Linked DNA regions of Homo sapiens: region 2 is linked to region 1. The links are contacts of gene promoters, found by promoter capture Hi-C in human tissues and cell types (Jung and others, 2019). All regions are on one chromosome and are shown on one strand. The core of a region is centred on a gene start or on the middle of the fragment in contact, and the rest is flanking DNA. Distances in the headings are between cores, read along the strand shown. Region 1 holds the start of DDI2 (DDI proteasomal shuttling factor 2). Region 2 overlaps PLEKHM2 (pleckstrin homology and RUN domain containing M2).

The links. Contacts are between HindIII fragments. The study calls those that stand out against the background at their distance.
Region 2: a contact is called between a fragment that was not itself captured here and the fragment with the promoter of DDI2 in region 1, in 3 of the 25 tissues and cell types used here (aorta, psoas muscle and small bowel).

The regions. Positions count from the first base shown.
Region 1 is chr1:15,614,908-15,621,038 of GRCh38, forward strand. It overlaps DDI2 (DDI proteasomal shuttling factor 2), which reads left to right and starts at 2,551. Exons shown (of 10, transcript NM_032341.5): 1 at 2,551-2,901. The coding sequence starts at 2,764. It also overlaps the pseudogene CD24P1. RefSeq lists a silencer at 2,305-2,874. The HindIII fragment of the contact is 8,472 bases long and covers 1-6,131 here.
Region 2 is chr1:15,718,498-15,724,628 of GRCh38, forward strand. PLEKHM2 (pleckstrin homology and RUN domain containing M2) reads left to right here. Exons shown (of 20, transcript NM_015164.4): 5 at 41-128; 6 at 1,237-1,423; 7 at 2,832-2,891. Among named protein-coding and RNA genes, the nearest start is that of SLC25A34, 15 kb to the right of the region's middle. RefSeq lists a silencer at 6,031-6,131. The HindIII fragment of the contact is 6,722 bases long and covers 194-6,131 here.

The DNA of each region.
Region 1 (6,131 bases), core at 1,301-3,800:
CTGGGTGAGAACTGCTGGCTCCAGGTGGACACAGGCGAGACCTAGCCTTAAAAATCACACAAAGTGGCTGGGTGCGATGGCTCACATCTGTAATCCCAGTACTTCGTGAGGCCAAGGTGGGAGGATCACTTGAGGCCAGGATTTGGAGATTAGCCTGGTCAACATAGCAAGGACTCATCCCTATTTTTTTTAACTAAAAATAATGTAAAATCATAATAAAAAGGAAATCAAGCCTGGGCAACATAGCAAGATCTCATCTCTACTAAAAAGAAATTAGCTGCGTGTGGTGGTGCACACCTGTAGTTCCAGCTGCTGGGGAGGTTGAGCTGGAGGGATCACTTGAGCCCTGGAGGTTGAGGCTGCAGTGAGCCATGATCGTGCCACTGCACTCCAGCCTGGGTGACAGAGCCAGACCCTGTCTTGATAAAAAAAAAAAAAAAAAAGGAAATCACATAATGTCACTTATGCCAGAGTTAGTCTGCCGAGCCATGATTCAAAGGGAGGGACATTCACCCCACTTCTTAATGGGAGGGTTATCCAATCATGTTGTAGGAAGAGCATAGACGATGGGAGGCACTGTCATGGTCATCTTTGGAGAACAAAATCTGCCAGACCTGGGAACCTGAGCACCACTAGACCAAATATAACAATTAATCAATGATTCAAGCCTCAACTGATTCCTTGATACCACCACTGGGCAATCCTAGAACATTTCTCAGCTAAACTTGCTTCAATTTGCAATGGTTATTTCAAACATTCACTGTAGAAGGCACTGTGTACATCTTTCCTAATACCCATTCCCAGCCCCCCTTTTCCCTATTTATGTCCTTTAGGCAAAGCTAAATACTTGCGTTCCTAGCCTCTCTTGCATCTATGTGACACAATTCTGTCCAGTGAGATGTAAGCAAAAATGTGCACAGGGACTTCTGGGCAAGCTTTTTCCTTGAATAGGAAAATGATGCGTGCAGTGGAGGCAGCCAGCCATATATTGCAACCCTCAGGAAAAGGTCAAGACAATTACAAAAGTATTGGCCCTGATTTCAGTGAGCCACTCAACCAGTGCTGTTGCTACCTCCAGGCCTTCTCTCCTGTGAGAAAACAAACCCTTGTTTGTTTAAGCCACTGATAGTCAAGCTTTCTGTTGCTCCTAGGGGATATAAGCATTCTCACTCCCCTGTGCCTCTACTTTCTCTTTTTTTTTTTTTTTTTTGAGACAGAGTCTCGCTCTGTCTCCCAGGCTAGAGTGCAGTGACCTGATCTCGGCTCACTACAACCTCCGCCTCCCGCGTTCAAGTGACCCTCCTGCCTCAGCCTCCCGAGTAGCTGGGACTATAGGTGTCCGCCACCATGCCCGGCTAATTTTTGTATTTTTAGTAGAGACGGGGTTTCACCATATTGGCCAAGCTGGTCTCGAACTCCTGACCTTGTGATCCGCCCGCCTTGGCCTCCCAAAGTGCTGGGATTACAGGCGTGAGCCACCGCGCCCAGCTCCTCTAATTTCTCTTTGTAAAAGCCTTCAGCTGCTAATTCTCCCTTTCCTGCCACCAACAGCCTACTTACTACCTACTTACCTGCACCCACAGCCATCTTATTTGCTCCTTCTCTCCTGTTAAAATGGAAAAGGGCTCCCTACCATGGAGGGGGAGTGGGAGTAAATGGAAAGATGCTAATCTGGCATCCATTACAAGTTCATCTTTCAGTTTTGGTTTTCTTACTCATCCGCACCTTAGTTCTGGGCCTCTACCACTCATCAGCTGTGTGCCTTAAAAACAGGCCATTAAAGTAGCAAATATTTATTGAGTAGATTCTAAGCTGTGCCCAAAAAGGCACTGCGCTAGGTGGTAGGAGTTGCTAGGGCTAGGAAACAGACACAGTCCAAGTAGAGAGAAAATTATTTACAAGACAGGGGAATGGAGCCTTGGAGGAACTGACCTATGTGGCTGGGAGGGCAGAGAATGTGGGAAGAGCTCGGAAGAAGGGGCTGGGGAGGTAGGCGTGGGCCACAGCCAACTGGCTTCTGTAGACTAGGGAGGGTAATGATTTTGGTTTCAATCCTAAATCACTAAGACAGGAAGTGAATTACTCTGTCGGAGCCTCAATTTCTACCTCGAAAAATATGTTTTATTACTAACTCCTGTACTAGATTGAGAGTTACGGAGAAGGATTTATCCTTTTATTCATTTCTGCATCGCCAGCGCCCGACACATGGTAGGCGCTTAATCAATGCCTGTTCGGTGAATAAATAAGACCGGGGACTCCTCCACAGACTTCTGTCATTAAGTCAACCAGTCAGCAGAGATTTCCTTCTCCGCGTTCCTTTCCTTCCCTCCCCTTTTCTTGCCCTTCCTCCCTCTCCTCTTCCACGCCCCCTTCCCACTCCTCCCCCTCCTATCCTCTCCTGGCTTCCTCCTCCTCTTCCCGGCCCCGCCCCCCGCTGCGTTGCGAAGGCGGGGAAGGCGAGGCGGGCTTTACGGCAGCCGCGTTGCGGCGGGGCGGGGCGCCGGGCGGCCGGCGCGCTTGGCGGCAGCCGTGGGAGGCAGGCCGGCAGGCAGACGGACTCGCAGGCGTGTGGCGGCGGCCGTGCTTGCTAGTGAGGGCGGGAGGGAGTGACTCACTGAGCGTGTGTGAGGGAGGGAGCGAGCGAGCGAACGAGCAGCCGGCGCCGTCCTCCCGCAGCACCAGCCAGGCCACGCCGCCGCCTCTTCCCCTGCGCCCCGCGCCCAGGCCGGGCCGAGCCGAGCCGAGCCGGGTCGGGCCCGGGCCATGCTGCTCACCGTGTACTGTGTGCGGAGGGACCTCTCCGAGGTGACCTTTTCCCTCCAGGTCGACGCCGACTTCGAGCTGCACAACTTCCGCGCGCTGTGCGAGCTCGAGTCTGGCATCCCCGCAGCCGAGAGCCAGGTACGCCGGGCAGCGAGCCGGGCCTGCCCCGGAGCTAAGCCCTCCCCGCCTCGGGGCCTCACTCCCTCCCTTTGCTACTGGTGAAGAATTGGGGGCTGGGGGGAGCAAGGATAGCCATTCTCAGGTCACCCCCGCATCCGGAAAGGAGCTGGGGAGCTGGCATCAGTAGCTGCCCTCACACACTCCGAGCATGGGGTGGGGTACGAGGAGAGGGAGCGGAGAACCTGACCGCAGACGCACCCACTGCAGCGTGAGGGGCGCGTGGACTGTTGAGCAGCGCTAACCCTCCCCACCTTTGGCTCTTTGGCCCTTCCCTGTTTCTAATCCCGAGTGTAGGATATCGTTGTGGACCTCAGAAGCAGCCCTGGGTTTGCTAGGATTCATACATCCTGCAAACCAGAAATACCAGTTTGGATCACTGTGGTAGATAGATGTTCCTCTGCTTTTTTTTTTTTTTTTTTCTGGAGAGGGTTTCTGCTTAAATATACGCAGTTTACCTTTAAATGCACAGATTTGCACTTCCGGTGAAAGAAAAAGTTTAAGACTTGCACTACCTCATTTTGGGGTCTTTGGAAATGCTCTTTACCCACCACATGCGTTTCTGGTTAAATTCTTTTGAAAAACAGTACCTATTGGTTCAACTCAAGCTGTTTGTTTGTTTCGGTTCTACCCTGGTAGTAAGCCAGAAGGCCCTTTTTCTTTCAGGTCACAGTTCAGAGTTTGGGTCAGTTCAAAGCTCAATGCTTTAAAAGGATATTTGCTTGGAAACGGCCTAGTATCAGTGCTGTTTGGTGGTTTCATTTCCCTACTCAGCTTGCTGGAAAGAAGTTCAGCCTCTCATATTTTAACTAAGCAAAGTAATTCTCAAAATGCTTTGGGGCTGCCCCTAGTCTTTATCAAACAGAATCGGTGACACTAACGCTGTAAACTTTACACTAAAACACTTAGATCATGACTTAATAAATTTAGCCTGGAGGAAATAGTCTAAACATTAAGAAAATTATAGAGGTCTCCCAAGTCTCCATCAAGTAAATCTTGATTTTCTACTGCAGTTATGAAATAGTTTACAAAACGATTGCCCAACTGCAGCTTGTTCTGCTGTCTTATGGTAAACACGTGTCAATACTTTGTTCAGAAGTATGATTCCTTTACACAATGTGAACTTTAGAACCTTGGCATAAAGCTGTTCAGAAAGAATTTAAAAAGTTAATCCACAAAAGCTCAGGAACCAGTTCTGTCAGTGAATGCCTCATGTGGAGAACTAGGAAAGGACTGTTTAAATAGAGAAAATAAACTCTTCAATTTTTTTTCTTTTTTTGTTTTTGTTTTTGAGACGGAGTCTTGCTCTGTCGCCCATGCTGGAGTGCAGTGGTGCGTTCTCGACTCACTGCAACCCCAGTCTCCCGGGTTCAAGCGATTCTCCTGCCTCAGCCTCCTGAGTAACTGGGACTACGGGCGCGCGCCACCACGCCTGGCTAATTTTTGTAATTTTTTTTTAGTAGAGACGGGGTTTCACCATGTTGACCAGGCTGATTTCAAACTCCTGACCTCTAGTGATCTGCCCGCCTCGGCCTCCCAAAATGCTGCGATTACAGGTGTGAGCCACCGTTCCCGGACAACTCTTCAATTTTTGATAGTGGCTTTTTCTTTTCTTTTCTTTTCTTTTTTTTTTTTCGAGACGGAGTCTCTGTCGCCTAGGCTGGAGTGCAGTGGCGCGATCTCGGCTTACTGCAAGCTCCACCTCCCGGGTTCGTGCCATTCTCCTGCCTCAGCCTCCCGAGTAGCTGGGACTACAGGCGCCCACCACCGCGCCCGACTCATTTTTTGTATTTTTAGTAGAGAAGGGGTTTCACCATGTTAGCCAGGATGGTCTCGATCTCCTGACCTCGTGGTCTGCCCGCCTCGGCCTTCCAAAGTGCTGTGAGCCACCGCACCCGGCCCGATAGTGGCTTTTTCAATTGTTTTTTCCTCTAGCTGTTATATTACCCTGGTTATGATCACCGGCTGGTAGGGAAAATAAGAAATTAAAATGTAAATTGATTTTGTTGTTAGGGCTTGGGAAAAGACAGAGGTTGAGGTTGTTTCCATTCCTGCACTTTTTGTGATGGCTGAAACAAGAAATTTAAGTCAAAGGGATACCTGACACCCCCTTTAATTGACTTAAATTTCTTGTTACAGCCATCATAAAAGACGATTTATTGTGTGGTCAGCCAGACATTGCCCTCTGCCAGTTGGTAAAGTTAGGAATACCTTAGTAATTGAACATAGGCTAACTCCAAATTATTTCTTGTTCATTATGTCAATGTTTCGGCATTTACTTCCTTCCCAAGCCAAATTAGCATATAGAAACTTGGGCTCCAACTGGTGTTAAGCCTGTATTAGATAGCCATAAACAGCTCCTGTTTTTCCAGTCTGTTCTGTTGGCTCCATTGTAACCTGACAACACAGTATCTATTTTAAGGTGTCTGGTGGTCGGTTGTCTTTCACTTGCTTGCTTGCCCATCAGGCAGGAACAGGATCCACCCTAGACACTTGAGTCATTTCCTTTCATCAAATCATAATAGTAAACATCACTATAGTTTTTACCCATAAATATATCATGTTTACTTACTTGAGTGTCCCCCCCCATTACCTCCCAGGGTTCTCTCATATTACTCATCTTCCCTTCCTTTCCTAGACTGTTTAACTCCTCCTCTTGTTTACATTCTCCATTCCCATTCCTTCACCTCTCATTTCTGATTCCATTTCTTCAAGGAAATATATATATTTTTATGTTCTGGCTATTTTTTCCTGCCACTATGTGTCCACACCACTGGTGTCCAAACTTTCATTCATGTATCCCTATCAGTAAAATGTTTCAGATTATGCTTCTGTTATGTATATAATACATTATATACATGAACTGATACGTTGTATACATTATATATGGCCACATGTGCATATAATACACATAACGTGCATTATATGCATATATAATATGTTATCTGTAAAGTAACATTGTACACACACAAAATGGAGCTTAAGGAAGGACGAACTAAAATAAATGGAAATGAAAATTCTAATATTTTCAGTTTCTTCCTCCACCGTTAAAGAATTGTCTTGCATGGCTGCCCTACATTGGTGATCAATGGTTTAGAATTCAGTCTTTCACCTGAGTGTCAATTGCACATAAGCATATAGTTGGAAAAGGTGTTAATTTTTAACAGCTCTAGTCTGATGATAGTAGTTAC
Region 2 (6,131 bases), core at 2,305-4,804, 100 kb after region 1:
CAGACCCAGAGGCACCATCGTGGCTTCTCATGTCTTGCAGGAATGCCCTGGTCTGCAGCCACGATCACCTGACGCTCTTCCTGACCTTGGTGTCCGGGCTAGAGTTCATTCGTTTCGAGCTGGATCTGGTGAGACACCAGGGCTCTCACTGCTTGTGGGAAGCAGAGGAGGGGGCAGGGTGGGGGCAGGGTGGGCGGTGGCTTCATTTCTCAGGTCTTGTTGAGGGAGCTTGTTGAGTATGACTGGGCTTGAGCAAAACTTGTTTTTTTGGGCGAGGGAAAGGTTTCAGGGTCCATCGAATTGAGTGAGAAGAGAAGTGATGGCAAGAATTCCTGGTTCAGGTGACTTTTTCCTATCTCCCTATCCAACTTGGAGAAAAGCCACATTGCCTGGAGTATCTTAGCCCAGAAGAACTGGCCTTCATGTTTAGGATGTGAAGAGTTAGAAGGACAAGGCAGTTTCAGCCTGGTGCTTCTGGGGTTCTGAAAAGTGTCATCAGCTCCATGAAGAGCCTTCAGCCACCCTCTTCAAGTTCTCAAGTTTCTCTCCCCATCACACCCTGTACAAATGGGATGCTGGCCCACATAGAGCCAAAGAGGCTCCCAGGCACCTCTTGGACTGGGCTCAAAATGGATGCAGCTGCCCCGTCCTAATCAAATGACCTTCCTTGGGCCAGGCGCAGTGGCTCACACCTATAATCCCAGCACTTTGGGAGGCTGAGGTGGGTGGATCACCTGAGGTCAGGAGTTCGAGACCAGCCTGGCCAACATGGCGAAACCTCGTCTCTACTAAAAAAATACAAAAGTTAGCGGGGTGTGGTGATGGGCGCCTATAATCTCAGCTACTTGGGAGGCTGAGGCAGGAGAATCGCTCGAACCCGGGAGGTGGAAGTTGCAGTGAGCCGAGCCACGTCATTGCACTCCAGCCAGGGCAACAGAGTGAGACTCTGTCTCAAAAAAAAAAATAAATAAATAGAGAGAGAGAGAGATAGCGGGGGCATCAAAGGGTGTAGCTGAGTTCTGACAGCTCTGTCTTCCATCAGCCTGAAGTCCACAGCTTTAAAAGCCAACACTATTCACATTGCTCTTCTTAGCAGCTTTTCTTTGAATTTACTACCTTAAGCCATTGATTTCCCAAAGAGGCACATCTGTGTCTCCCAGGCCTGGATCCTGCTGTCTGCAGAAGGCCGCTGCACGAGGCCTCCCACCAAACGGGCCTCCTCTACTCTCTCCTCAGGATGCCCCTTACCTAGACCTGGCCCCCTACATGCCCGACTACTACAAACCTCAGTACCTGCTGGACTTTGAAGACCGCCTTCCCAGCTCGGTCCACGGCTCAGACAGTCTGTCCCTCAACTCTTTCAACTCCGTCACCTCCACCAACCTGGAGTGGGATGACAGTGCGATTGCCCCATCTAGTGAGGGTGAGTGGCCCCAGGGCAGAAAAGCTAAGCCCCTGTTGTGAAACAGACTTGAACTGCTTAAGCCTGGCTGGGTGATGTCTTCCTTGGCTAGTTTTGGTCTGGTGGCTGAAATTTGCAATTAAACAGGGCTGGCCATTTCCCAGATCTTCATCTCCTCAGAGTCCCTGTGGTGGCTAAAAAGTGGATTCTGGGCACAAAAAGCTGAAATTATATATATATATATATATATAAAATATATATTTTTTAAGGTTAGACCCTTTTCCAGAAGGTTCTAGTCACATGCCTGTGGCAGTTTTCTAAGCAAGGAAGGTTTAGCAGTGGGACCTGGAAACCTTGTCGCAGGGTTGAGTGTTGCCTGTTCTGGGGAGCTTGTCTGACCCCACATTCTTTGCAGAAGGAGGTTAAGCAACCCCTAGAAGAAGAGAGAACCAGGCAGGTCTGAAGCGCAGGGAAACCTTGCCACTGTGTCCTGTGTGTCCGTCCGATTTCTCTGAGTTCCTTCTGCGCTCGCTGATGTGTTTGGGATGGTCGCACCCTTTGCATCAGGGACCGAGGAAGAAGCTGCAGGTCATTTTGTTGTCTTGACCCAATGATTTACTGGAACAGCCTGGTTTCTTTCAAACCTTAGGCCCTGGTGTTCATGGATAAAACTGGCCATTTTCCCCTCTTTATCTCCTGTAGGAGACCAGAGCCCTTCATTTACTTCACCCCACCACCTCACCTCCAGGGAAGGGGATCCCAGCCCCAATTTAGCCCTGGGGCACCCTAGAATTGCCTCAGCATTGAGACCTTGACCTTCCCCTTTCTTTATTTCTGCTGTACCACGGGTTATATGTCCCAGGAAGGGAGGTCCCTCTCAAACTTGCTGTTAGCAAGACCTGCATTGCTGACCGTGCAAGCTGAAGAAGGCGGCACAGTCTCCTTAGGTTGGGCCCATGGGCCACCTTAGAGGAGTTGGAGGGGTGGGCCTTGCCGGAAGAGCCAGGGCAAGGATGGATCCATGGATGGAGGTGTCCCCTCAGCAATTTGGAGATTGTGCAACTGCAGCTGCCAGGGCAGTGTCTCCTTGCCCTGCTAGGGTATGGAGGGAAGGCACGTAAGAGGTAGAAAACAAAGCTAGGCACAGGCAGCCAGGCTTCTCTCTGCCAGAACCAGCTTCTGGATGTGGAAAGGGGTCACCCTGACAGGTCTTTCCAGCTGGTTGGAGGCTCCTGGGCCAGCGCCTGAGCTGAGAGGCAGTCAGGGCCCTAGTAAGTTTCCCCAAGGTTGTTGGATACAATGTAGAAAGTTGAAGTTTTCCTCTCCTATTTTCTCCCCATGTCTCCCACCCCATTTCCCCTCCCCTCCCTCCAGTCATCCTTCCACTGCCTGTGTTTCTAATCTTCAGTTTTGTCCCTCGTTTTTGTAGATTATGATTTTGGAGATGTGTTTCCAGCAGTGCCGTCTGTACCCAGCACAGACTGGGAAGGTGGGCCAGAGTCCGCTGTTACCCTCTTTTCCTGTTTTGCAATGTTTCCATGCCAAGCTTGCTGCATGTATCAAATCAGCTCCTTATTATTTATAATAATATCCATAATCATAATAAAGCCAAGTTTGGTGTTCTAATAGATGGAATTCTGCAGTGGGAAAACTCAACCTCTAGCCATAGGCAAATCCCTTCTCCCAGTGCAGGGCTCCTGCCTTTGCTCAGTGGCCTTTCGGAGTCACTAAGTGGCTGCATTTCGGGGGATACAGGGTCACCCTTCCTGATTCCAGTGCCAGCTGATGCTCTCGGGGTGTGTAGGGCCTGACCCAGTGAACCAAGACTTGTTCTGGAAAACCATGCCTTTAAACATGCGGGTTGTAAGCTCCTGCGGGTCAGATGAGCATCGAAGAGAAAGAGCTTGATTCTTTCAGTCTGTTCCTAATGGCTTCCTCTTGGGTGTTTTGGAGTGGTTGAGGTCCAAGTCAGGAAACTGCCCAGGTACAGCTGAAACTTCCTACAGACAGAATCTCTTTGAAGCTTTAAAGCAGATTAAAAGGAAATCTGCCAGCCCTCCCACCCTGTCTGCTGGGCAGTAGCAGTGCCTGGGCATTTTTCTGCCTGAAATTCCACTTCATAAATTCACAAAGCTATTCCCAGGTTGCCACGATTACTCAAAGCAAAGGCTATGTTGCCAATAAGGTGAATGTTTCCCCCTTAAATCTGAGGCCATAGCAGATCCCTGTTATTTTACTTTATGTTATTTTATTTTACTTTTTGAGACGGAGTCTCGCTCTGTTGCTCAGGCTGGAGTGCAGTGGTGTGATCTTGGCTTACTGTAACCTCCACCTCCCGGGTTCAAGCAATTCTCCTGCCTCAGCCTCCCAAGTAGCTGGGATTACAGGTGTGTGCCACCACGCCCGGCTAATTTTTGTATTTTTAGTAGAGACAGGGTTTCACCATGTTGGCCAGGCTGGTCTCAAACTCCTGACCTCAGGTGATCCACCCCACCTCATCCTCTCAAAGTGTGGGATTACAGGCATGAACCACTGCACCTGGTCCAAATCCCTGTTATTAAAGAGCCTCCTACCCTCTGGGCCACTTCCAGCCTGGAACAGGGGAGGTGAGGGAACCTGGCCTCTGAACAGGGGAGGTGAGAACTGCCACACCCTGAGGATGAGGGGCACGTGGCTCTCCCCGCATTATTAGAGACGTGATTGCTGAGTAATGGGTGACAGGTGATCCGTTCCCAGATAATGTGAGTATGAAATACCTTAACTCTGTGAGAAATAAGATGTGGCATTGGGAAAAATAAACTATGACACTTGGCCAAGAGTAGCATTGAAGGGTCCCCTGTTTGAGTTAAATTAGCTTGGATTCCAGAATTCCATCATAACATCATGTACCCTCTTAGCCCCTCTTCTTGCAGCACACATGCTGGATATTGTTTTTTTTTCCCTCCGATTCTAACAACTAACCCCCCTCCTGACACGCCTGCTGCAGTCACTTGACAAGCAGGGCCTGACCTTCCTCTACAGCCTTTCAGAGCTCCCTGCGGCCTGAGAACTAACAGCCCAGTTGCACTGCTTGCCTCAGGGCAGGGTGAGATTTCTGGAGTTCCTGGAGCAGGATTCCTGAGCTCACTCTGGCAGCTCACCCGGGGAGGCTCTGTCTTCTCCTTGGACCTGGAGGAAGGCAGGACTTGGGGCAGCTCCAAACTCTGAGCCTGGGGTGGCCTTCCCCTGGTCTTTGGCTTATTTACAGAGCTGGTGGGCATGCGGGCCTTGACACCCACCACATCTCATGATCTGCCCACTCACCTCTCAGGGCTCCTCTTGGGTGCAACTGCGTGTGCTGAGGAGAATCACAGGAGCCGGAGCAAGAACACATGGGCTTGGCAGGAGCCTGCTTTGGGACCGAGAGACGCGGTTTTCTGTATCTTAGAACTTAGGCTCTGAGATCCCCGGAAATCTGGAAAAAGTCCCCGATGTTGCTGGTCTTTTCTGGCAGAGCTACTCATTGCCTTTAGCCTCCTCTTTTGTCCTTATATTAAAAGACAGCAGACTTAAAAAAAAAAAAAAAGGGCCAGGCTCACACCTGTAATCCCAGCACTTTGAGAGGCTGAGGCTGGAGGATCGCCTGAGCCCAGGAGTTTGAGACCAACCTGGGCAACACAGGGGGACCCCGTCTCTACTAAAAATATAAAAATTAGCCAGGCTTGGTGGTGCACGCCTATAGTCCCAGCTACTCTGTGGGCTGAGGCAGGGCAGGAGGATCACTTGAACCCAGGAGGTCGAGGCTACAGTGAGCTGTGATTGCGCCACTGCGCTCCAGTCCGAGCGACACAGCGAGACCCTGTCTCAAAAAAAAAAAAAAAAAAAAAAAAAGGACGGTGTGCTGCATCAGCAGACAGCTGCCCTGTGGCTTCCAAGGGCACTAAGTTGACAGCTGGTTGGGCCCCCAGTGGGGCTGTGGGGTGCATGTTTGCCTCTTTTCTTCCGGGCAGACAGCGGCCAGCAAGATGAGCATTGGCCGGCAAATAGAGCACGACCAGCCATGGCCCTTGCCATTGACCCTCACCCAGGCAGTTTCACCAGCTGGGCCTCAGCTCTCTGCTTGGGTGGCTCCCATCTGCCACTGGCCGTATGGGCTGTGTGCTTCACCTGCCCGTGCTCCCTCTCCTGCCCTGTTCCAGTAACCAGGGGCAGATGGCTGGGTGGGGCGGGATGTCCAAGCCAGCTCCCCTCTCGGGGGCCGTGTCAGGGTATGAGTCAGAAAGGACCAGTCAGTGAGCTGACACTTGAATGAAATGGAGTTCTCGGCCGGGCACGGTGGCTCACGCCTGTAATCCCAGCATTTTGGGAGGCCGAGGCGGGCAGATCACGAGGTCAGGAGATCGAGACCATCCTGGCCAACATGGTGAAACCCCAGCTCTACTAAAAATACAAAAATTAGCTGGGCATGGTGGCGCATGCCTGTAATCCTAGCTACTCGGGAGGCTAAGGCAGGAGAATCACTTGAACCCGGGAGTTGGAGGTTGTAGTGAGCCGGGCTCGCGCCACTGCGCTTCAGCCTGGCGACAGAGAGAGACTCCGTCTCAAAAAAAAAAAAAAAGAAAGAAATGGAGTTCTCAGCACCACCCTTGCAGGGGCACCTGGTCCTGCCCCCGAGGAGTGTGTAGGGTCAGGGGTGCTGGGGAGAAGCAGCCTGGGGGGCGGCCTCTCGGACCCCTGTCTTTGCCCCTTC